7 separate regions of the Homo sapiens genome follow, and regions 1, 2, 3, 4, 5 and 7 are each linked to region 6. Evidence: promoter capture Hi-C in 16 types of primary human blood cells and fetal thymus (Javierre and others, 2016). All regions are on one chromosome and are shown on one strand. The core of a region is centred on a gene start or on the middle of the fragment in contact, and the rest is flanking DNA. Distances in the headings are between cores, read along the strand shown.

The links. The method cuts DNA at HindIII sites, captures the fragments that hold promoters and counts their contacts. A CHiCAGO score of 5 or more calls a contact.
Region 1: a fragment that was not itself captured here is called in contact with the fragment with the promoter of DCTN4 in region 6 in 2 of 17 cell types (naive CD4 T cells and total CD8 T cells); the score reaches 5.7 in naive CD4 T cells.
Region 2: a contact is called between a fragment that was not itself captured here and the fragment with the promoter of DCTN4 in region 6, in 1 of 17 cell types (fetal thymus). The highest score is 7.5, in fetal thymus.
Region 3: a contact is called between a fragment that was not itself captured here and the fragment with the promoter of DCTN4 in region 6, in 2 of 17 cell types (non-activated CD4 T cells and neutrophils). The highest score is 6.9, in non-activated CD4 T cells.
Region 4: a contact is called between the fragment with the promoter of CCDC69 here and the fragment with the promoter of DCTN4 in region 6, in 10 of 17 cell types (fetal thymus, neutrophils, naive CD8 T cells and 7 more). The highest score is 15.8, in fetal thymus.
Region 5: a contact is called between a fragment that was not itself captured here and the fragment with the promoter of DCTN4 in region 6, in 1 of 17 cell types (naive CD8 T cells). The highest score is 5.0, in naive CD8 T cells.
Region 7: a contact is called between a fragment that was not itself captured here and the fragment with the promoter of DCTN4 in region 6, in 3 of 17 cell types (total CD8 T cells, activated CD4 T cells and naive CD8 T cells). The highest score is 5.5, in total CD8 T cells.

The regions. Positions count from the first base shown.
Region 1 is chr5:151,140,612-151,143,850 of GRCh38, reverse strand. The region is part of intron 2 of ANXA6 (annexin A6); the gene reads left to right. Among named protein-coding and RNA genes, the nearest start is that of ANXA6, 16 kb to the left of the region's middle. RefSeq lists enhancers at 2,030-2,239, 2,260-2,339. The HindIII fragment of the contact is 1,446 bases long and covers 1,001-2,446 here.
Region 2 is chr5:151,160,610-151,163,618 of GRCh38, reverse strand. No RefSeq gene overlaps it. Among named protein-coding and RNA genes, the nearest start is that of ANXA6, 4.3 kb to the right of the region's middle. The HindIII fragment of the contact is 7,646 bases long and covers 1-3,009 here.
Region 3 is chr5:151,259,317-151,262,511 of GRCh38, reverse strand. It overlaps GM2A (ganglioside GM2 activator), which reads right to left. Exons shown (of 4, transcript NM_000405.5): 2 at 2,596-2,757. Among named protein-coding and RNA genes, the nearest start is that of GM2A, 7.7 kb to the right of the region's middle. The HindIII fragment of the contact is 6,835 bases long and covers 1-3,195 here.
Region 4 is chr5:151,222,246-151,225,675 of GRCh38, reverse strand. It overlaps CCDC69 (coiled-coil domain containing 69), which reads left to right and starts at 1,584. Exons shown (of 9, transcript NM_015621.3): 1 at 1,584-1,753. The coding sequence starts at 1,706. LOC105378230 (a long non-coding RNA gene) reads right to left here. Exons shown (of 4, transcript NR_160730.1): 4 at 1,326-2,200. RefSeq lists silencers at 1-148, 1,632-1,711 and enhancers at 1,832-2,031, 2,052-2,161. The HindIII fragment of the contact is 18,522 bases long and covers 1-3,430 here.
Region 5 is chr5:151,180,438-151,183,664 of GRCh38, reverse strand. CCDC69 (coiled-coil domain containing 69) reads left to right here. Exons shown (of 9, transcript NM_015621.3): 9 at 51-2,613. The coding sequence ends at 228. It also overlaps the pseudogene PDGFRL2P. Among named protein-coding and RNA genes, the nearest start is that of ANXA6, 24 kb to the right of the region's middle. The HindIII fragment of the contact is 205 bases long and covers 1,871-2,075 here.
Region 6 is chr5:150,757,489-150,760,670 of GRCh38, reverse strand. It overlaps DCTN4 (dynactin subunit 4), which reads left to right and starts at 1,654. Exons shown (of 13, transcript NM_016221.4): 1 at 1,654-1,812. The coding sequence starts at 1,678. RefSeq lists enhancers at 1,579-1,878, 2,309-2,378. The HindIII fragment of the contact is 18,997 bases long and covers 1-2,541 here.
Region 7 is chr5:150,359,586-150,362,866 of GRCh38, reverse strand. It overlaps TCOF1 (treacle ribosome biogenesis factor 1), which reads right to left. Exons shown (of 27, transcript NM_001371623.1): 2 at 1,656-1,711. Among named protein-coding and RNA genes, the nearest start is that of TCOF1, 3.5 kb to the right of the region's middle. RefSeq lists a silencer at 99-238. The HindIII fragment of the contact is 1,216 bases long and covers 1,155-2,370 here.

The DNA of each region.
Region 1 (3,239 bases), core at 474-2,973, 380 kb before region 6:
AGCTTAGACGTCACCTCCAGAAAGCCTTCTCTGATCTGCTTGGAATATATTCGCAGTCATTCATCCATCCATTTATGAAACATATTCAGTGAGTGCTTGATTGCTCCAGGCCCTGTACTTGGTGCTAGAAATGCGTCAGTGAGCAAGAGAGACACAGTCCCTGCCCTCCCGGAACTTCGAAAGGAAATATTTCCTGGGTCCCATGCTGCCCTTAGCATCGTATCTGCCACACTGTCTTGTAGTTGAAGCTGTCATGTATCTCTACCAGATTCTGAGTTCTTAGTGGTCCCTGGTCCTAAGCATCTACTTAGTAGACTCTCAGTAAATGTTGCTTGCTTGCTTGATTGAATGAATGAATGGTAGGGTAGCCCTAGCTGCCCTGGAATTGTGAGTATCTGAATGTGAGAAGCACTTAGGATGCTGTGGATTGGACAGCATTGCTGCCTTTTTATAGCCTTGAATATAGGGTCGAAATGGCATAGAGGCAAACAGCACAGGGCAATAACTCAAATGCTTCAGTATTCAAGGAGAGGGGCAGGCTGGCATGGTTGACCAGGAGGAAGCAGTGGGCTATGTGGTGGTTGTCCCTTCTTATCTCCAGCTCCCACCCAGATGGAATCTGAGGGGAAGGGAGAGATGGTCTGTTAGAAAGAGCCTTGGATTCCCTTCCCAGCTGGGCCTCTGACTTGCTGTGTGGTCTTGACATGTCACCTGCCCTCTCTGTTCTGGGTCTTCTGGGACACAAGTGGTAATAGACCTACCTTCCTCATTTAGTTCTCAGCTTGTGGTTCTCAAAGTCCTTTCCCTCTCTTATTCCAAGTGAGCCGTGGGAGGGACATCCTATGACTGAAGTGGATTGGAGACTGGTGCTGCTGTGGATTAGGACAGGTTGGTCAGACAGGTGGAAGGAAAAACAGCCATGAATCATGGCAACAGGCTAGCCTGCAGAGGGCCCGGACAGACCCTGGAGGACCTGCCCCTGGTGGCATCTTTCAAAGCTTAATATTTCCACACTGGTCCCAGGAGGTCCTGACATTGGAGACAGCATTGCTAGGGATCCAGTGCCAGGGAGGTCTCCCTTCACTGTCTTCCCCTTCGGCGTCCTCCATCTCAGAGCTTGGGCCGTCATGGGTGTCTCCATCCATTCATTTAGCCCAGTCACAGTTACTTCCAGCCTGTATGCCAAGCCTGTGCTAGAGCTGGGGCTCCACGGTTCTTCTTAGGCAGAATGATTTGTCTTATTCACGACAGTCTCCATTCTCCATGGACTCAATAACTGAGTGGGAAGCTGAACTAAAAGGTCTTTAAGGATCGTTGCAAAGAAATAATTTTGAGCCTCTGAACCTTCTTGTTTCCTTTTTTTTTTTTTGAGACAGAGTCAGTCTCATTCTGTCGCCCAGGCTGGAATGCAGTGATGCGATCTGAGCTCACTACAACCTCTGCCTCCCAGGTTCAAGTGATTCTCCTGACCCAGCCTCCTGAGTAGCTGAGATTACAGGTGCCTGCCACCATGCCTGGCTAATTTTTGTATTTTTAGCTGAAACAGGGTTTCATTACATTGGCCAGGCTGGTCTCTGACTCCCTACCTCAAGTGGTCTCCCGTCTAGCCTCCCAAAGTGCTGGGATTACAGGCATGAGCCACTGTGCCCAGGCACCTCTTGTTTCTCCATCCATCCTAGTAGCTAATATTGCCTGCTGTGCTTTTTTGATATCGCTGGACTGGAGGTGTCCAGAAAGAAAGAGAAAAGGATTTAGAAGTGAAATTCCTGGAGGACCCCAGTTGTTTCGTGTTCTTGTTCATTTTATTCATGTGGCAAATACTTGAGTATTTGGTCAATCTCTGTGCAGTGGGCAGATGGATCTGGTATCTGCTCTCAGAGGTTTCTGGATCAAACTGCCCACCGGGGTGGAGAAGGCAGCAGGAATTTCTCAAGCTCCGGCCGTGAGGTCTGAAGTAAGGCCAAGGGGAGCGCTGGCAGTAAAGCCCCCATCCTGCGCTCACTGAGCTCCTTGCAAGGCGCCCTGCTCTGGGTATTCGGCATGTGTTACTCTTTAAGTCTCTGCCCAGGGGCGTGATCAGGTTGCAGGGGATTCCCAGGTGGCAGGAAGAGAGCTGTGTTCCTTTCTGGTCAGAACTTTAAATAGTAACTCCACGCCGACGCATGCATACCTCAGAGGAGCCAGCCTCTGCAGACAGAGACCAGAGAGCATCCAGAGGCCTGGCCGGGGTCCTGCAGTGCAGACGTTGGGAGGCACGGAGACGGGGAGAGGGGGAGGCGGTCCAGGACTCACTCTGCTCCACCTCTGACTCCTTGAAGGCAAGATCTGTGTGGCCCACCCTCCATTCCCTCTTTTTTGGATTCTTTCCTGATTTCCCGCAGCTGGATCAGCCTCTGCTGTTTTCCCACATTACCTTATTTTTGTCTTAATGTATTTACTACAAGCTTTATAGTAATTGATGTGCTTGTCTGTCTCTGCCACTGGGCCAGGAGCTCGTGAAAGACAGGAATTGGGTCCCCTTTCTCCCCAATTCCTCAGCCATTAGTGTAGGGCCTAGCACAAATGAAGTGCCTTGTCACTGTGCTGTGTGCTCGGTGACAGGCTCTGGCATCCTCCACTCTGCCAGCTCTCAGCTGCTCTCCCAGACCCCCCACTTTTCAGTGCCATGTAACTGACCCACATCTGACTTCTCTGTGAACCAGTCCCATTGTGCATTCAGGTTCAGGTTCGATGTCTAAGATCCCCTGGCTCTCTGCCGCTTCTCTCCTTCCCCTCAAAGACCAAGCCAGCTTGTCCTCAGATGCCAGTTCACAGCGCAGTTTACTGGGCCCAGAGGGGCAGTGCCTTGTCTTGGCATTGAAATGAGAGTGTCTCTGGGCCCCCTGTGCCCAGGACCCCACCCTCAGTAGCTGGCACCTGCAAGGTTCCTGGAGCTGGAGAGCAGAGCGGGGCTGGAGAGCAGAGGGAAAAGGTCTGAGTTCTGTGTGACCTCCCACAAGTGGCTCTTCTTTGGGCTTGGCTTCTGTGATAGAAATAATCTTAAGAGCGTCTACAAATGGCTACACTAATGACATTCACAGAGGTGAAAGTGTAAACATAAAATGCCATAAAAATATGAGGGGCTGGCTGGGTGCACTGGTTCATGCCTGTAATCCCAGCACTTTGGGAGGCCAATGTGGGAGGACTGCTTGAGGCCAGGCATTCAAAACTAGCCAGGGCAATAGAGTGAGACCCCATCT
Region 2 (3,009 bases), core at 291-2,790, 400 kb before region 6:
GTGGTGGTGCACACCTGTAGTCCCAGCTACTCCGTAGGCTGAAGCATCAGGATAGCTTGAGCCCAGGAGGTTGAGGCCGAAGTGAGCTGAGATTGTGCTACTGCTCCAGCCTGGGGGACAGAATGAGACCCTGTCTCAAAAAAAAAAAAAGAATGAAAAAAAAAAAGTTGGGCATGGTGGCTCACATTATACCAATGCTGGTGTAATCCCAGCATTTTGGGAGGCTGAGGCAGGAGGATGGCTTGAGCATAGGAGACCAGCCTAGGCAAGATGGTGACACGCCATCTCTACAAAAAATACAAAAATTAGCTGGGCAGGTGGCATACACCTGTAGTCTCAGCTACTTGGGAGGCTGAGGTGAGGGGATCACCTGATCCTGGGGAGGTCAAGGCTGCAGTTGAGCCATGATCACACCACTGCAGTCCAGCCTGAGTGACAGAGTGAGACCCTGTCTCCAACAACAACAATAAAACAGTGTTGGGCCTACAGCTTCCTCTGTATTTTAGATTATTTTCTTAGGATTGATTCCTGTAAGTGATGATTAGCTCAAAGAGAATGAGCAGTATATTAGTGTTTACTCCTACTTGCTGCTGTAGCTCAGGAATTAAGGCCCTGGGCTCTGCAGTCAAGGGAATCTGGCTTTCAATCCTGCCTCAGTCACGTGGGCTGAATTTGGGCAAAGATCAAAAATTTCAGTTACTTTTATTGCAAATTAAGAATACAAATAGCCCTGACATTTGTACACTACAGCCCATTCTGTCTCCAAACATTGCTGCAGGAATTCTCCCTTCTCTCTCCTCCATCAATTTTTTTACCTTCTATATGATAACTCCCACCAGCATACAAATATGCTGTTATGTCTTCAATCTTTAAAAAAATCAAACAAAAGCCCTTCTCTTGACACCAATTCCCTTGCCAGACACTGCCTCATTCCCTTGCTGGCCTTCGCAGCAAAACTCCCAGAATAAGTAGTTTAGGCTTTTTATCTTACACCGTTCCCATCAGGCCTTTACCCCCAACATTCTGCAATTCACAGCAAGAGATAAGTTGGCTTTCACATTGCTAAACCCAATGATAGATTTGTAGACCTTGTCCTACTTTACCTAAAAGCAGCATTTGACACACCTGATCACTCCCTTATTTTTCACTTTGCTGCCACATTCTCCTGGGGTAGTTTCCTCCCATCTTACTACAATCTCCTTCCCAGTCACCTTTGCTGAATTCTTTTCTTCTCCCCAACTCTTTTATTTTATTTTTTGAGAGTCTCACTCTGTCTCTCAGGCTGGAGTGCAATGGTGCCATCTCACTGCAATCTCCACCTCCTGGGAGTGATTCTCCTGCCTCAGCCTCCCAAGTAGCTGGGATTACAGCATGCACCACCACGTCCAGCTAACTTTTTGTATTTTTAGTAGAGATGGGGTTTAACTATGTTGGTCAGGCTGGTCTTGAACTCCTGGCCTCAAGTGATCCACCCACCTCAGCCTCCCAAAGTGCTGGAATTACAGGCATGAGCCACCGGGTCCGGCCTCTCCCCAAATGGTAACATAAGAGTGTCTCAGACTCGGTCCTTAGCATCGTGGGTGATCAGCAACTATTTGGGGCTGGCGGTACAGGCAGTAAGAAGAATTTACCAAGGCAGTTGTAGGTAAAGAAAGGCAGATTTATTAGAGAAAGTATGAAAATACATTGCTGCCAGACGTGGTGGCTCATGCCTATAATCCCAGCACTTTGGGAAGCCGAGGTGGATCACGAGGTCAGGAGTTTGAGACCAGCCTGATCAACATGGTGAAAACCCATCTCTACTAAAAATACAAATATTAGCCAGGTGTGGTGGCACGCACCTGTAATCCCAGCTACTCAGGAGCCTAAGGCAGAAGAATCGCTTGAACCCGGGAGGCGGAGGTTGTGGTGAGTCGAGATAGTGCCACTGCACTACAGTCTGGGCGACAGAGTGAGACTTCATCTCAAAAGAAAAACAGAAAAGAAAAGAAAATACGTTGCAAGGGTGCAACGGGCAAGTTAGCAAAACAGAAGCTAACTGCAAGAAAACAAAATCTGGCTAAGGATTTTATAGGATGGTGCTTGTGCTGTGTGCTGAAGAGGGCTTTGTGCAGTACTGATAACATCAAGGGTGCAGGGAGCTTGCGTGCATTTTTCTATCAGGTGAGGGTCTGGCAATAGCTGGGCGCAGATAAGATTGTGAGTTATTCGCACAGGAGGGCTATGCATCCTGGGCCATGAAGAAAGGCAGACTTATAGCTTATCTGCTTTCTCTTTTTGCTTTCCCTTGGTCCTGCCAGCCTGACTCCTTTTGCCGAACTAGGACTCCATATTTAGTTCTCTTCTCCCTTAAGGATCTCATCTCTTGAACTCCAGACTTGACTAGCCAACTGCGTACTTGACATCTCCTGTTGGGTGTCTAATAGAAATGTTCAACAAACTGGTCAAAAACTGAACTCCTGATCTTTTCCCCACTTCTAATTCCCAAAATTGCTTTCCCTGCAGTCTTGCTCATTTCAGTTGATGGTAACTCCATCCTTCCAGTGGCTCAGGCCAGGATCCCTGAAGCCATTCTTGACTCTTTCTCATCTCCCACCTGATCCTTCGGAAATCATGTTCAACCTTCAAATACATCCCATCTCCAACCACTTCCCCCACCTGCATTTATACCAGCCTGTCTCTTGCCTGGATTACTGCAAAATCTCCTAGCAGATCCCCTTCTTCTACTCTTCCCCCAACAGTATTCAGTATTTCCAACACAGGAGACTTCAGTGACCCTTTAAAAAATATGTCTTGGCCAGGTGCGGTGGCTCACACCTGTAATCCCAGCACTTTGGGAGGCCAAGGCAGGTGGATCACCTGAGGTCAGGAGTTCAAGACCAACCTGGCCAACATGATGAATCCCCGTCTCTACTAAAAAAATACAAAAATTAACTGGGCATGGTAGCAGGTGCCTGTAATCCCAGCTATTTGGGAGGCTGAGGCGGAAAGAATTGCTTGAACCCACGA
Region 3 (3,195 bases), core at 88-2,587, 500 kb before region 6:
CTAATCGAAATGTTCACAAGATATAAAATGTACTGAGCATGTCCTGGGTGCCAGGCCCTGTGCAAAGCACTTTCCACATGATTTTCTAACTCAGGTATTGCTCAAGGAAAGCCCATAACGTAGGAGCTGTGATTAAGACAGGTCTAAGGATAATGATAGAAACACAGAATCCAAATCAGGAATCTTCTAAATAATTAACACAAAACTGGTACTAGAATAGATCTGGATCAGGAACAGACTGAAGGGCATAGAGGAGCATCATATAAAGGTAGCAATTTTAGCTAGAGAGGAAAGGACCATATTAAATGGTGTTGCAATGGATATATGAAAAGTCTTCATTGTTTTCTAAGAAAATATAAAAACATACACCCCTAAAATAGTCAATGGATGGAAACAAACAGGTTATTCCCAAAGTAAATACAAAAGGCAAATAAACTTATGAATAGACATCTACGCTCACTAGGAATGATGCAGGTTTATTCAAACATTGGGAGGCACTTTGGCAAAATGTATCAAAAGACCTAAAAAGTGTGTATCTAGAGAATCAGAAAATTATAAAAAGATGTACTATAAGAATAATTTCTACAAAGGTGGTTACTACAGCAAAACAAAAAACAAACAAACAAAAAAAACCCTCTGGCCAGGTACAGTGGCTCAAGCCTATAATCCCAGCACTTTGGGAGGCTGAGGCAGGTGGATTGCCTGAGGTCAGGAGTTCAAGACCAGCCTGGATAACATGGTGAAACCCCATCTCTACTAAAAATACAAAAAGTAGCTGGGCATGGTGGCAGGTGTCTGTAATCCCAGCACTTTGGGAGGCCGAGGCAGGCACATTGCCTGAGGTCAGGAGTTCAAGACCAGCCTGGCCAACATGGTGAAACCCCATCTCTACTAAAAATACAAAAATTAGTGGGGCGCAATGGCAGGTGCCTGTAATCCCAGCACTTTGGGAGGCTGAGACAGGAGAATCGCTTGAACCCGGGAAGTGGAGGTTGCAGGGAGCTGAGATTGCGCTACTGCACTCCAGCCTAGGCAACAGAGTAAGAACCTGTCTCAAAACAAACAAATAAACAAACAAACAAATAAAAACTACCCTGGAAACAAACTAAATGTTCAACAATAGACTTGTTATATAAATTATGAAAGATCCACATCAGAATATTTCTGCCATTAAAAATGATTGGGTGGGCTGAGCAAGGTGGCTCACGCCTATAATCCCAACATTTTGAGAGTCTGAGGCAGGAGGATTGCTTGAACTCAGGAGTTTGAGACCAGCCTGGGCAACACAGGGAGGCTCCGTCTCCATAAAAAATAAAAAAATTAGGTAAGCATGGTGACATGAACCTGTGGTCCCAGCTACTCAGGAGGCTGAGGTGGGAGGATCCCTTAAGCCCAGGAGGTCAAGGCTGCAGTAAGCCATGATCACACTACTGCACTCCAGCCTGAGCAACAGAGTGACACACTGTCTCTAAAATTACAATACATTAAAATAATAAAATAATGATTGGATAAAAAAAAATTGAATAAGTAGAGCCACCTAATCCTTGGAAAGATATGGACATATAGTATGAGGCAAAAAAAATAGCAAGTATAATAGCACATATCATATAATCCCATGAGTATAAGTGTGTATATATTTACAAACACATAAAAATTCTGATGGGATATATAAAGAGCAAACACTGACTATCTCTAGGATTTAGATTACTGGAGGACATTTACAATGAGCACTGCCTATTATCATACATATCCATTAAAAATAAATATGTGTGTTATGTATGTAATTGTATGGGGGAAAGTTGCAAAGAATATCCTATAAGATGTTAAAAGTGCTTATCCCTTATCACTAGGTAGTGAGATTTCAAGTGATTTATTTTATTTATTTATTTATTTTGGGACAGAGTTTCACTCTGTCACCCAGGCTGGAGTGCAGTGGTGCGATCCTGGCTTTCTGCAACCTCTGCCTCTTGGGTTCCAGCAATTCTCCTACCTCAGCCTCCTGAGTAGCTAGGATTACAGGCACATGCCACCACGCCCAGCTAATTTTTGTACTTTTAGTAGAGATGGGGTTTCACTATGTTGGCCAGGCTGGTCTCAAACTCCTGACCTCAAAAGATCCACCCACCTCAGCCTCCCAAAGTGTTGGGATTACAGGCATGAGCCACCACACCTGGCCTATTTTATTTATTTTTTGACCACTTGTGTTTTCTAAAGTGACTATATATTACTGGCTAATTGGTATATCAATTTTATAATTAACAACAAAACCAAATTGGCCAACCAGAGCTGTCAGACAATAATGAGCAGTTGGCCACCAGGCCCAGAGAAGGCCAGGACGCTTCTGCCAGGTGCAAGGTATCCGTCACTCCTGCCCTCACCAGGAAGTTGCTGGCGCTGACATCAGAGATTCCTTTCAATCTTATGATCCTGAGATTCCATGAACCTGTGAAAGAGTGTCTGAATCTACATGTCCTGTACTATTCTCTGGGAATCCAGGATTCTGAAATTCTTCACAGTTCCCCAAGCATACATGCCCCAGTACCCCTGCTGGCCAGACCCTCGCACCTCCCCTTCTCCACCCACCCCCAGGCTCACCTTCAGAGGAGAACTCAGGGGGACACTGGTGCTGCCCATGACACTGAGGGTCACATTTCCAGGAACGATGATGGGGTCAGGCTCCAGAGTCAGGCTTCTGATCACCGCAGGGTCCTTCCCTTCATCACAGTTATCCCAGGAAAAGCTACTGAGCTGGGATGGCTGGGGACAATCAGGCAGCAAGGAAGGAGAAGAAGAAAAAGGTTGACAAAAGAAACTATCACAGATCACAGGAAAAATGAGCTCCTGGCAGAGTGACCTTGGGTGAGGCACCCCCGTCCCTGAGCCTCATCTATGAGACTCCATACCTATGAAGCTGGGATAACACTTATCCTACTCATTTTATAGGCAGGACTAAACTAAAAGACTCAAAAGACATAATCTCCCAAAAGTGTATTGTAAACTATAAGGCAGGATATGATAGACCTGGAACTTCCAAACAGGAGACTGACCTAATTGGCCTTTGGTGGGCACCTTCTCTGACTTCCCACCTCCCTGCTGCCCACTCCTCTCCAGCCAGCCTTGGAATCCCAGCAGAGGGCAAGCTCCTGGAGGATTCACCTCTGCAGCCCACACCCAGGACCTTGTTCATGTCACACC
Region 4 (3,430 bases), core at 335-2,834, 470 kb before region 6:
GGCGGCTGGTAGTGCTGACACTGCTGATTTGGGAATCACACTTTGTGAGCCACCATTCTCTATTATACTTGCTTTTGAGAACCTAATAACACGTTTCCTTAGTTTCCTTTCTTACACACTTTTGCAATTGGTTTTGTACCCTATGGAGGGAGCAATTTTTTTGAGGTCTCATATTCTTTCCCCATTCATGACTCTAAGCCGTTTTCACAGCACACCTTTCCAAGAGTTTTGGGCCTGACTTTAATATTCCAATATACACGCAAATAGGCATACACACTGATTTTCAAAATTGGTTATCTTTTTCCTGCATTGCCATTTCAGAAACCTCAGCTAATAACAAAGAGAAGATAAACAAAAGCTCCTTTTCCTAGACACTGACATTTTATGTCCCATAGTCACCATACCTGGCCTGCCTCAAGAGGTTGTTGTGATGAATAACATCTATCCAAGATGGATAGAGTCAAATATTACAGATGCTTGTGAGGTGGAAAAAACTATCAGCCCAGAAGTGAGGAGGCATTAAAATTAAACTTAGTATTATTGGCCAGGTGTGGGATCCCAGGACTTTGGGAGGCCGAAGCGGGCGGATTACCTGAGGTTGGGAGTTTGAGATCAGCCTGGTCAAAATGGTGAAACTCTGTCTCTACTAAAAATACAAAAATTAGTTGGGTGTCGTGGTGCATGCCTGTAATCCCAGCTACTGGGGAGGCTGAGGCAGGAGAATCACTTGAACCTGGGAGGCAGAGGTTGCAGTGAGCCAAGATCGTGCCACTGCACTCTAGCCTGGGCAATAGAGCGAGACTCTGTCTCAAAAATAAATAAATACAATAAACTTAGTATTATGATTTATTTGTAGGCCATTGAGTCAAAGTTTAGGTTCTGGAGTTAGAACTGTATTCTGTGCAGTGGCTCATGCCTGTAATCCCAACGCTTTGGGAGGCCAGGGTGGGAGGATCGCTTGAGGGCGGTCGTTCAAAATCAGACTGGAAAAAAGAAAAGAATTTGGTTGGGTATGGTGGTGAGCCTCTGTAGTCCCAGCTACTCAGGAGGCTGAGCTGGGAGGCTCGCTTGAGCCCAGGAGTTTGAGGCTGCAGTGAACTATGATAGCGGCAAAAAAAAAAAAAAAAAAGGAACTGGATTCTATCTGGGCTGTGGTAACTTACTAGCCATGTGACCTTAGGCAAATCATGTTGCATCTCTGAACACCATTTTCCTCACCTGTAAAATGGAGGAAGTAATACCTTTGTTGCACTGATATGGCAAGAAATAGAAATAAAATGTATAAAACAACTGGGACAAAAACAGCCCTCAATGAATGATAGTTGTTAGTTTATCAAATAATTGCTTTAATTATTTTTTCCCCCGGCCCTTTCTTAGCTGAGGGTTCGGAAAAGCATCTGTTGCTCCTTGAGGTTTTCTTTTCTTCTGCCCTGACCAGAGCTTCCTATTATTTAGAAGGATTCTGGTCACCTGCCTCTGGTGGCGGCGCCGCTGGCCCTGCGGGCTACACTGAGGCCCCGCTCTTCGGGTATTTACGGCGGGCGGCCGCCCCAGCTCAGGCTCAAGACAGCGCTTCCAGGTTCAGTTTCAGGGTCTCGCCGGCAGCCCCAGCCGGCGGGCGCGGAGCGGGCAGCGGGGCCCGGATCGCAGGCTCCTCTGGGGGCCCCGGAGTTGGGAAGCGGCGTCCGGGAGCCCCCGGAGGAGGATGGGCTGCAGACACAGCAGGCTGAGCAGCTGCAAACCCCCGAAAAAGGTAAAGGGCGCCGGCGGAGAAGTTTGCTTTCAGAGGAGAGGGGAGTGCGGAATCGCTCCGCCGCAGAGGACTCGGCGCCCCGGGCTCTCTCTGGTCGGCCCGGGATACCGGACGGAGAACCTGGAGAGGCCAGCTCAGAGACGAGGGAGGCTCTGCTGGGAGGCGCCCTTTACCCCGGCCCGAGCCGCACCAAGCAGCCGAGTTTACAAACACGGCACCCGGGCCAGGGAAAGGCAGCTGATTCCCGCTGCCTCGGGTGGGGAGATGTCGTGTGTCTGTGGCAGGTGCCCTCTGCTTTCGGTCTGGGGCTGTTCGCTGTGTGGCCATGGACAAGTGACTTGACCTCTCTGGGCCTTCGGCTTCCTCCCCCCGGGGGTTAAAGGCTGATAATCTCAGGGCTGCTCGAAGAGTGTTCCACAGACTCGCAGTATCAGCATCCCTGGGGACCTGTCAGAAATGCAGAATCTCAGGCTCAGGCCCAGTCTTGCCAAGACAGAAGCTGCCTTTTAACAATATGCCCAGGTGATGACGCTTTAAAGTTTGAGGCGCTGGTCTTAGGGCTCTTGCAGGCCCCAGAGCTGGTGAGTGTGGGCTGCCCTTGGGGTAGCTGGGAGGGGCCAAAGAGGGAGGAGATCTACTGCGTTCTGTGGCCCTCTCCTCCCTTCCTGTCCTTCCCCCAAGGGGCCTTGGAGCTGGGTCAGGGCCCAGGGGACAATTCTCAGGTTTCTTGCAGTGAGACCAGCTGCCCCTTGGGGTCTGACGAGCCCAGAAGGTCAGAGCCTGGAGCTAGAAAGATAGCCTCCTCAGGGGACACTGTGAGGCAGAGGGGAAGAAGGACCCTCAAATTCTGGCCCCTTTTCTTACCACTACCTGCCCCCTAGCCAGGTGGGACTAGGTGATCCCTTAAACTTTATCATCATTCCCCCTTGAGACCTTGAGAGGCCCCAAACTGTGACAGTGTTTAATAGTTTTGCAATGAACTTTAGTCCTCCCTCTGCTCCTGCTTTGCTTGTGCCCTGAGTACAGGTTTTTCTGCCTAACAGTAGTCCTAGCCTGGAGGATTCTACTCCCTTCTCTGACACCTCCTGGCTTTCCTTGCTCTCCCTTTATTACCAGATTGAAATTCTCACCAACTCCTGACCTAGAAACCCTCATGTCTTTACTCACTCCAACAGGGAAACTGAGGCTTGGCTCTATCAGTAGAAGGAAGGGGCTGGCTGACAGGGATGACAAGGCGGAGAGACCTGAGCCTTGGCTGAGACTTGTAACTGAGCAAGTGGTAGGCAGACATTAGCCCTGGGTGTAAGTCCTGGTGGTGCCATAAACATACTGGGTGACCCCAAGCAAGCCCTTGTGTCTCCCTGGGTCTCAGTTTCTCCCTGTATGGGGAGTGATGAGCAGGATGATCCCTAAGCATCTGAGAGTCTGTGTTCTCTGCACCTGTGTCAACCTTGTAGCTTGCAAAGTGGACCAAGGGTGAATTCCATCTACCTAGAGGTGGAGGAAACGGGGAAGAGCCTGACCCTTCCACAAGCTGGAAGAGGAGGTCACAGTAAGCACAGGTTCTTTGGCTCCTGCTCCTTCTGAGAGACTTACCAGCTGTTCCTGCCTGTCCCTGGCACAGCCAAAGCTCTGAAGGGCAAGTAAAGCTGGCACAGCCTGTCTGAGTTGGAAAGG
Region 5 (3,227 bases), core at 724-3,223, 420 kb before region 6:
TGTGGCAGCTGCTCCCAGTAGGCAACCCTGGGCTCTGTGTGCATCCACAGGCAGCTGTCAGAAGACCTGCTTCTCACGCGTGAGGCCCTGGAGAAGGAGGTGCAGCTGCGGCGACAGCTCCAGCAGGAGAAGGAGGAGCTGTTGTACCGGGTCCTTGGGGCCAATGCCTCGCCTGCCTTCCCTCTGGCCCCTGTCACTCCCACTGAGGTCTCTTTCCTCGCCACATAGGGTGCAGGGCCTGGGCCCACCACGACGCCTGAAGTCACAGCTCCTTCCAAGGTTTTTCTGGAGAAGACAGCAGGAGCCTCTCAGTTCTTTTCCAGGAAGGAACGAGGGTGGGAGCGAGATGGAGATCCTGGGTGTGTGCCCAGTGAGCCCTGGGGCCTTGAGTTACATGGAATCACCCACAGGGTTTTGGAGGCCCCGAGAAGCGTCTTCCCTTGAGTTGGCCAAGGGAATAAGCAAGAGGAGACATTTCCTCCCTGCCCCAGCACTCTGTCCCAATCCGAGAAGTTCCGAGGCTTTCCCAGGGGCAGTCTGTGTCACGCTGGCCATTTGACATAAAGGAGACAGCCCCTGGTCCCAGCTTGTCAGCTCTGCTGCCGACTTGCTGACTTATCAACTTCCTCTAGGTGTTTCCACTCCACCCTGGCCTGCTCAGAGCCTCAGTTTACCCCTGCATTAAAATGGTGGGGGGACTGGTCAAAGGACTCTTATGTCACTGCAGTGTCCCATTCTAGGATTGTCTGAAGGCCAGAGTAGGGGTTGGGGGGAGTGTGGACAAACCCCGCAAATCAGAGTGGGGAAGGTGAGTGGTAGAGAGGGGGTCTCTGAAGGCCCTTGGGGCTGACAGGGCCAGGCAGCCTCCCCAGCTGAGGCATCATTCCTGGGCCAGAGTCGTGTCCACCAAGGGACAGTAGCCAGAGCTCCTCTTCCTTTACCAGGCAAGGTGCATCCCCTCAGCCCTCCTGGCCCTTCAGTCTTGGTGCCACCTGGGCACAGGGGCAAGCTTGGTGGTTGTGAGTCCATTCATCTATCAGAGCTGGAACCTCATCCCTGCACAGATGAGGAAACCAAGGCATGGAGCAGTTCCCAGAGTCGAATCTAGATCTCATCTGTCATCCGGGTCTTATCCTTTGCTCTGTTTTTCTCTTCAGGCTCTGGAAAATCAGATCTGTGACTTAATCTTCCTCTCCCTGGCCCTCACCCACTTAGTTTCTTTTTCATTCCTGCTCCCTGCCTTAACTCCTCCTCCCACTGCCCCTGATCCCAGGCCCAGGCTTTTACAACCTGGTGCTCAGCTTCCCCATCAGTGAAAAGGGGTGGCTAGAGTAACTAACCTCAGCAGGCCGTCCAGTCCTGATAGTCTGTGGATTTCGGATCCTTCTCAGGAAGCTTCATGTCTAATGGAGACTATAATTATAACTCCTGTTCTGCATAGAGCATTTGCATCAAAGGCTTTCCATACCCCTCCCTCCCCTGGTCCTCATAAGATCCTTGAAGCAGGTTCCTATTCCTCATTGGCAACATGGCAAACAGATCACAGGAGTCAAAGGGCCTTGCTCAAGGTCCCCAGCTTCAGCCCCAGGCCCTAAGCCAGCGTCAGAACAGTCAATCTGCATTTTTCATCAGTCATTCTATAGTGACATCATCCCAGACTGCCTTCTGTATTCCCCTGTGTACAGTCTCCTTCTGTTTCTAGGTTTAGAAGTTCAGAGGTGACTGTGTTTCTCCATTTCCACAGCCAAATGGGGGAAGAGGTGAGGCTAGGGGAGTGCTGTGCTGATTCTCCAGCCATGGTCAGACAGGTCACCCAGGAGCCTCGAGGAAAGCCCTGGAGGGAATCACATGTGTACTTTTTCATGAAGCTTTTTGCAAAGCACATCTGCGATACACTAGTTTATTGAACTAATGTCCAGGAGTAGACATGATTGGTGGCCAAGTTATTTGGGGACACCTAAACAGATCAGTGACCTGAATGACTTCTCAGAACCTTTAATATGCCAATGTGTGTGGCAAACTTACAAGAAGGGAGCTAAGTATCCAGCCTCTCCCAAACCTCTTTGAACAAAGCTTCTGTCCCTCCCACACCTCTCACCTCACAGGCACATCAGGCTGCAGAATGCGCTTTAGAAAGCATTGTTTTAGTCCAGGCACAGTGGCTCACGCCTGTAATCCCAGCACTTTGGGAGGCCGAGGTGGGTGGATCACAAGGTTGGGAGATTGAGACCATCCTGGCTAACACAGTGAAACCCTGTCTCTACTAAAAAAATACAAAAAATTAGCTTGGCGTGGTGGTGGGCGCCTGTAGTCCCAGCAGCTTGGGAGGCTGAGGCTGGAGAATGGTGTGAACCCAGGAGGCGGAGCTTGCAGTGAGCCAAGATCGCGCCACTGCACTCCAGCCCGGGTGACAGAGCAAGACTCCGTCTCAAAAAAAAGAAAAGAAAAAAGAAAGCATTGTTTTAATTGAGAGGGGCAGGGCTGGAGAAGGAGCAAGTTGTGGGGAGCCAGGCTTCCCTCACGCAGCCTGTGGTGGATGTGGGAAGGAGATCAACTTCTCCTCACTCTGGGACAGACGATGTATGGAAACTAAAAAGAACATGCGGCACCTTATTTATGTGACTTTTGTGTTTTTCTGGGAGGGTGGGGAGGTGGGTCTTCACAAGGACTTCTGCCAATGGTGGGGATCTCTGAAGAGTAAATCTGGGGCCTGGGTAGCCCACTCGTGGTTCTGGGCACTCTCCTCAAGCACCAAAGCCCCACTGGCCCTTGCTTTGCCCTAATTGTGGATGTGGGGCCTGGGGCTAGGGTGAAGCCTGGATTAAAGGATGGCCTTCAAAATAGACCAAGGCTTGGAGTGAGGCTGAGGTTGAAGTAAGTGGTGAAAACAGAGGGATGGGGTGGGAGAGACTGCGAGGATGAATGAGAAGTCACCTTCTGCACTGCAGGACCCCTCTTTGGCATCAGAAACACTGATGTTCCCACAGGTACCTACCCCTGATTCTGCCTATTGCTCCACATCCAGATGCCTGTGGCCAGGGAGGGAGCTAGGAAGGGGTAGAGGAGACACGAGGACCTCGAGTCACGTGGACATGGGTGGTGGCCAAACCAGTGCCCTGAAGGTTGGTGGCCCAGCAGGTGTAGACACCAGCATCCCTAGCCCAGGTCCCCTCCACATACAGGGTGCCCTCTGCCTCCTGCTGTACCTGGCTCTCCCCGTGTACCAC
Region 6 (3,182 bases), core at 405-2,904:
ATTAACCTAAAGAAATAATTGCAAATGAGTTGGCTAGTAATATATTCTCTCCTAGGAGCAGATGTCACCTATGAAACTAAATTAGTGCCAGGCTATTGCTTGGTGAACAAGTAATGACTTTTAGGCTCAATTGGTAAAGCGTGACATAAATTGTGAGATTAGCACTGTATAAGCTGAAAAGGTCTATATAAATGTAAGGTATTATTAACATCACCATATTAGAAAATATGCTGGAGGGAGTATACATAGGGGTTATACCTGCAAGCACTAGAGTCAGAGAGAAAAGGGTTCTACCTCCATCTATGAAACCTTATAGAGGAGTCACTGCACTTCCCTGTGCCTCAGTTTCCTGCTCTGTAAAATAGAAATAATGATAGCCACATGCTTTTTGGAGCTGTTGTAAGAATTAAATTAGACAATGTATGTAAAGTTTTGACACAGTGTGCTGCACTTAATAAGTGCTCAATAAATGTTTGCTAATAGTATTCAGTTCCCTTTCTTCTCAATCACCAACTCTAACGTCAGACAGGTAATAATACAACACTACTACAATTATAAAAATGTAGACCTGGTGGCAGGCAACAGAGGCTCCAGTTTCTGCTAGGCAGTTCTAGGTGGTCATTTTACATACTGGGGAGTCCCAGTTAGAGAAAGGGAGTCAGGCTAGTGGGACCAAGGGATAGCAAGAAGAGCAGATGCACTCTAAGTCTGCCTTTCTTCATGGTGCAGGACACGTAGCCCTCCTGTGCAAATAACTCACAATCTTCCTGCACTCAGCTATCACGAGACACATGCAAGTTAGCTCCCTGTAACCTTGGAGTTCTCGGTACTGCACAGCACTCTGCAGCCCAAGAACCATCGGATAAAATCTCCAGCAAGCCTTTGTTTCCTTGAAGTCAGCTCCTCTCTGGCTGGTCTGCCCATTGCAACCTTTCAACGTATTTTCATACCTTCTCTAATAAATCTGCATTTCTTTACCTAAAACTGTTGATAAATTATTTTCCCACCCATGTAATACCAGTCTCACGTAGTCGCTGCTCACCCAAGAGGCAGACCTGAGCCTTAGTTTACACATTAGAAAAACGTAGACGCCTACCAACATTGTTCATTCATTGATTTCATTCCCTCCTTTTCATACTTATTGAAGGTCCACAATACAGACTTAGACCTAACGCTAACTATGTACTCAAAAACCTGCGTTTCAAATGAGATAATGTATGTGAAAGTTCCCAAAGGCCATTGGCAAGACTCAGAAGACAGTGCTGGTGTGACTCCTGTCTTGCAGTCCCCACGGAGCCCTGTCCCTTTGAGACCTTCCATTTGTCTCCTGGATGCTCGCCTGTTAAGTGGGGCAGAGGAGGCCGTCGTAAATAAGACAAAAGATCAGGCTTCCATTCTGGAAGAAAAGAATAAAAGGAGCTCACTGAGTCCAGACCTAATGGCAGTAAGGGCAGTGGACGCTCACAAAAGCGCTGGGGGACGGGCCCAGAGTTGGGGAGAAAACAGGGATCCCAGCTGCGCACGCGCGCTCTGGTTTTCGACGGGCGCAGAGCCGGACGAGGTGGGAAACCTAACGTCAAAGTCTACGTAGGAAGTCGTAGGGAAGGCAGCGAGGAAGACGCTGGCTCTCGGGTCACGTGATGCGCCGGGAGCGTCATCGCCTCCTCCCTCCCCAAGATGGCGTCCTTGCTGCAGTCGGACCGGGTTCTCTATCTAGTCCAGGGAGAAAAGAAGGTTCGGGCCCCGCTCTCGCAACTCTACTTCTGCCGCTATTGTAGCGAACTGCGGTCGCTGGAATGTGTGTCTCACGAGGTAACAGAGTCGCCCTATAGCGAGTATGTGGGGTGGGGGGGGCGCGGCGTTCATGCTAGTCACTGCCACCGGAAGGCTGGAGCTATTTTCCTTCCTTACTGATTGGTTATGTCTTCCGTCACTCGGGTTTGCCTGCGATTTAATTTGCTTCTAATCTGTCACTTGGAAAGGAGGAGCAGCCTCGGGTGGGACTGAGCGGATCTTCTGGTTCTAGAGCGGCCTCTGATTGGACAAACTTGACTTAGGGACCGTGTCTGTCTGCGATGGGGCTTGGTAATTGGGTGGACTACGGAGAAAGGTCTGGGGGTGCTTAGTTCAGGCCACTTAAGGGGCGAAAAACTGCCTTTCCAGGATTTATTGCGAGGATGGAGGGAGGCGCAGGCGTTCTCATTCATAGTTCTCCCATCCTGAAAGTTCTGTTCCTCTTTTGTCCAGAAACTGGGCCCTCGTCAGACTGCCTTGCCCTGTTCCTGACTCAGGCCAAGGCCTGCAGCCGGGAAGAGGTTGGGGCGGCGTGAGTTATGTGAAAAGCGCTCAGAATACAGTATGTCATGTAAGAAGCTGAAAGTGTATTTATGGAGCTAGAGGACAATGCTGTCCTTCCCTGGCACAAGTGGGCGTCCGAAGTTGGATTTTTCAAAAAGAAGACCCCGGCCAGTAAAAAGTCACCAAATAACAAAACCCCAAAACTTCTGCAGCGCTTGGCACATCTTGTTTATTCAGTAAGCTTTAGGGATTAAAAGGCGAGTAAGACATAAAATGCGCTGTTTAATAAGCCATAGTCTTAGTGAAGAAAAAGCTGATAGTAGTAATAGTTGCTGCTTATTCGATACTTGCTATATGTCATGTGCTTTATGTAATCTTCAAACCAATTTAAGTGGATACTTTTTTTAAAAAATTTTTTTTACAGGTAAAGAAACAGATACAGAGTGTTCGCTGTAAGTCACACAGCCAGTAATTTGGGGGTGGGAAGGAGGACCTGGATTTGAATCTAAACAGCCTAACTCAGAGTGTTTTTTACTGAAGATCCCGGGACTGTTAAAATAAATGCATATGAAAACACATACTATAAGCCATTTTATGTGTTATTAATAACTTATTTTATTGAAGATACTTTTCATAATAGGAATAGTCAAGAAAAGCAATTAAATAATACAAGAAAAATCGTATATATTAAAAATATGGCATCGATTTTTCTTCTCATCTCCATTAGCACTTTCCTTATGTGTATCTCCTTGATGATTCCCTATTCCAGCTCCACCTCCAGAATTTATTGGATCATATTCTCCTGTGGTGAATAGAGTGCTCAGTCTCCATGATCTGTCTCTAAGACTCTCTTCAATTAGGACATCCAGTCTGTGACAGCATCT
Region 7 (3,281 bases), core at 513-3,012, 400 kb after region 6:
GGGCCAGTGGCAGGGAAGAGTGTGCAGAGTAGCTCACTGAAGCAGTTTTTTGGGGGAAGGAAGTACTACGAATAACACCCACTCACCTGGGCAAGTCAGGGTGAGGAAGTGTGGGCTGTGCCCTGTGCTCTAAGCTCTCCTTAGCAGCAGAGGACTGAGGGTTGGCAGGGTTTTCAAAGACCTTAGCTCTCCACCAGAGGCTGTAATCCCTTCCACACCATTTTTGCCTTTGTTTACACACCTCTAATGACAGGGAGCCCACCACTTCCACCTAGCCCACCTCATTTTTAGATAGCTCTGATGTCATTATATTCAGAAGCTGAAACCTGTCTTCCTGAAGCAGGTACATTTGGGGCCCACTTCTGTCTCCGGGGCCTCAGAGAACGCACTATTCTTGGTCCTCAAAGATGTGCAGTGGTCCCTCACACCCCTCTCCTGCCTCCTTTCCATCCAAGGCAATTCAGTACTCTCTACCATTCCTCATGGGATATGTCTGCATGTCCTTCACTCCCTTAGTCAGCTGTGGTCAGGCCAGTGCATGAAGAGAACACAATTACTCTCTCCATTTTCCAACCATTCCTCTGTTGATATATCCTTGGATGATTCCCCCTTCCTTGAAGAGTACATAAATTTTACATGTTTAAAAGGCATCTCACACTCAACATGTCATTGAAATCTTTCCCCTCCAAACTGAGTTCCCTTCAAGCTCTATGCATGGGTACACAAGTTAGATGTGGAGTCAATAAGATACTTCCTCTCCCACCCATCCACAGGCCCTGGTTTCATCCCTATGATTCTTGGGAATCCACTTTCTACCCTGTTCTCCCTGTGTCAAGCCCCATCAGCTCTTGCCTGGACGATGGTGACCATGGCCCCACCAGTCTCACCATGGTGCAGAGCAATCTCCTCACTTTTTCACCCTACCATGGCCCCACTGCTCTTGGATAAAGACAAAATTCCTCACCATGGATAACCAGCCCATGCATGGCTATCCATGCGATGACCTAGCCCCATCTGTACTGTCCACCAGCCACAGGACTTAGCATTAGCAATTTCCACTGGCAGGTACACTCCACCTGCCACTCTCTACCCACTGCATAGTTCACTCCTCCAATTCCTATAGCTCTCAAGTCAAAGATCACCTCAGGGAAGCTTCCCCTGGACCCCCAGATGAAGCCAGACTTACCCATTTATGTGGCTGTGGCAACAGATTCCTCTCTTTTGTAATCCTTACTACCACTGTAATTTAACATTCATTTGTTTCATTCTTTGACTTATGCCTACCTCCTTGGCTACAATGTCAGCTGCAGGAAAGAAGGAACCATGTCTGTCTCACTTGTGACAATATTTGCATACTAAGTAAGAACAGGACTTGGCTTTCAGGAGGTGCTCAATATACGTTTGCTGAGCAACTGACAAGCTGGTGAGAAGCTCTTGTTCTTAAGAGATCACAGCTCTCAATGTCCCCTCCCACTACCAGATATCCACACAGAAATACCCATCCATGTGATGTGAGCTGGCTTTCTGGAGGCAACAATGGTGTCCACAGTGGGCTATGGGGACAGATCTTAGACCAGATAGGTATCCCAGCTTATTCCAAGCTGAGTTGCTTGGGGTGTCCGTCCCTACTCCACCCTATAGGCCCCACCACTTACTGTTGCCAGTGTGTATAGATGTCCAGAAGGGTTACGGGCTGAGCCAGGAAACACTTCTGCAGAGAGGTAAAGAGAAAGCCACAATTAATCCCCAGCACAGTAAGGATCCTTCTTGGGCCCAGATCTCCCCAAACTCATGACTTGTATAGACAGGTGGTTCAGAAGAGGGTCTTTTTGGCTGGGCATGGTGGCTCATACCTGTAATCTCAGCACTTTGGGAGGCTGAGGCAGGAAGATCACTTGAGCCCAGGAGTTCAAGACCAGTCTGGGCAACATAGTGAGACTGTCTCTATAAAAAAATTTAAAAATTAGCTGAGAATGGTGGCATGCACTGGTGGTCCCGGCTACTCAGGAGGCTGAGGTGGGAGGATCACTTGAGCCCAGGATATCGAGGCTGCAGTGAGCCATGCTTGTGCCACCGCACTCCAGCCTGGGCAACAGAGCAAGACCCTTTCTTTAAAAAAAAAAAAAAAAAAAAAGAGGGTCTTTTTGCTCTGGGAAGTATGTCTGCTTGGCCCTGCCAGTTCTGTCCCAAACCTTCCAGAGACAAGAAGAACAACCAATCCCAACTAAAACCTTTTTAGACAACCCCTTTGAAAGGCCAGAGGTGGAATGTTCCAAGCTAGCATTCATCCAGCTCCCAGCCTCTCTGGCACTATCCATGCCTAGAGGCCATGAGACAGGGTTTTCCCCACCTTTGACCTTTAAAAAAGCTTTCAAAGACGTGGCCAGCCAATCTTCCCAAAGCACGAATCACAGCCCAGACACCTGAGGCATCCAGGTGGCATGACCACAGTCTACTAGTCTGCTGGGAGAAGACTGGGCCCAAATGGTACCAGTCCCTTGGTGGAAGCAGAGGGAACCAGGTGGAATCCAGGCCTTTGGAGCAGAGGCCAGAGGGCCCAATGTCTCTGTAAATGTCAATAAGCCAGGATATCAAGTACTCTAATGAGGCTAAGCAATGTGGGGCACGGGTGGACTGAACTAATCTCGTCACGTCTTCGAACTTCAGATTTCTTCTTAACATGGGGACAACAGCGATACCTACCTTGCAGGCTGCTATCTGGTTTGAACAAGACCATCTGTCAGTGCCCAGCAGTGAGCCGGTAACACTAAGATTTCAAGAGTCAGTTTCCCTCTGCTCCACCTCAGGCAAAGTGTCCTCCTTGCTGTCCTCAAATGTGTCAGGCCACCCTGCCTCTAACGCGGCCTTGCTATTCTTCTTGTCTGGAATGTTCTCTCCCCTGTTAACTACACAGCTCACTCCCTCATTTCCTTCAGGTCTCTGCCCAAATGACACCTTCTCAATGAGACTTCCTTGACTACCCTACTTATAATCGAAGTCTGACATCCCTTATCCCCCTTGCCTGCCTTTTATAGCAAGCACCAACTATCATTGGATATACTATATCATTAACTTATTAAACTTTTTCTATTTGTCACCTGTCTGCTCCTACTAGAATGTGTGCTCCATGACGGCAGGATATTTTGCTCCAATGAAGATGGGTACTATCTCTTGCTCCCCTTATCTGTGAAGTACCATAGCTGCGGTAGGAAGAGCAAGTGAGGTTCAGAGAAACTGGGAAAAGCATACATAACGTCTTAGGGCCCATCACCCTTTAGTCC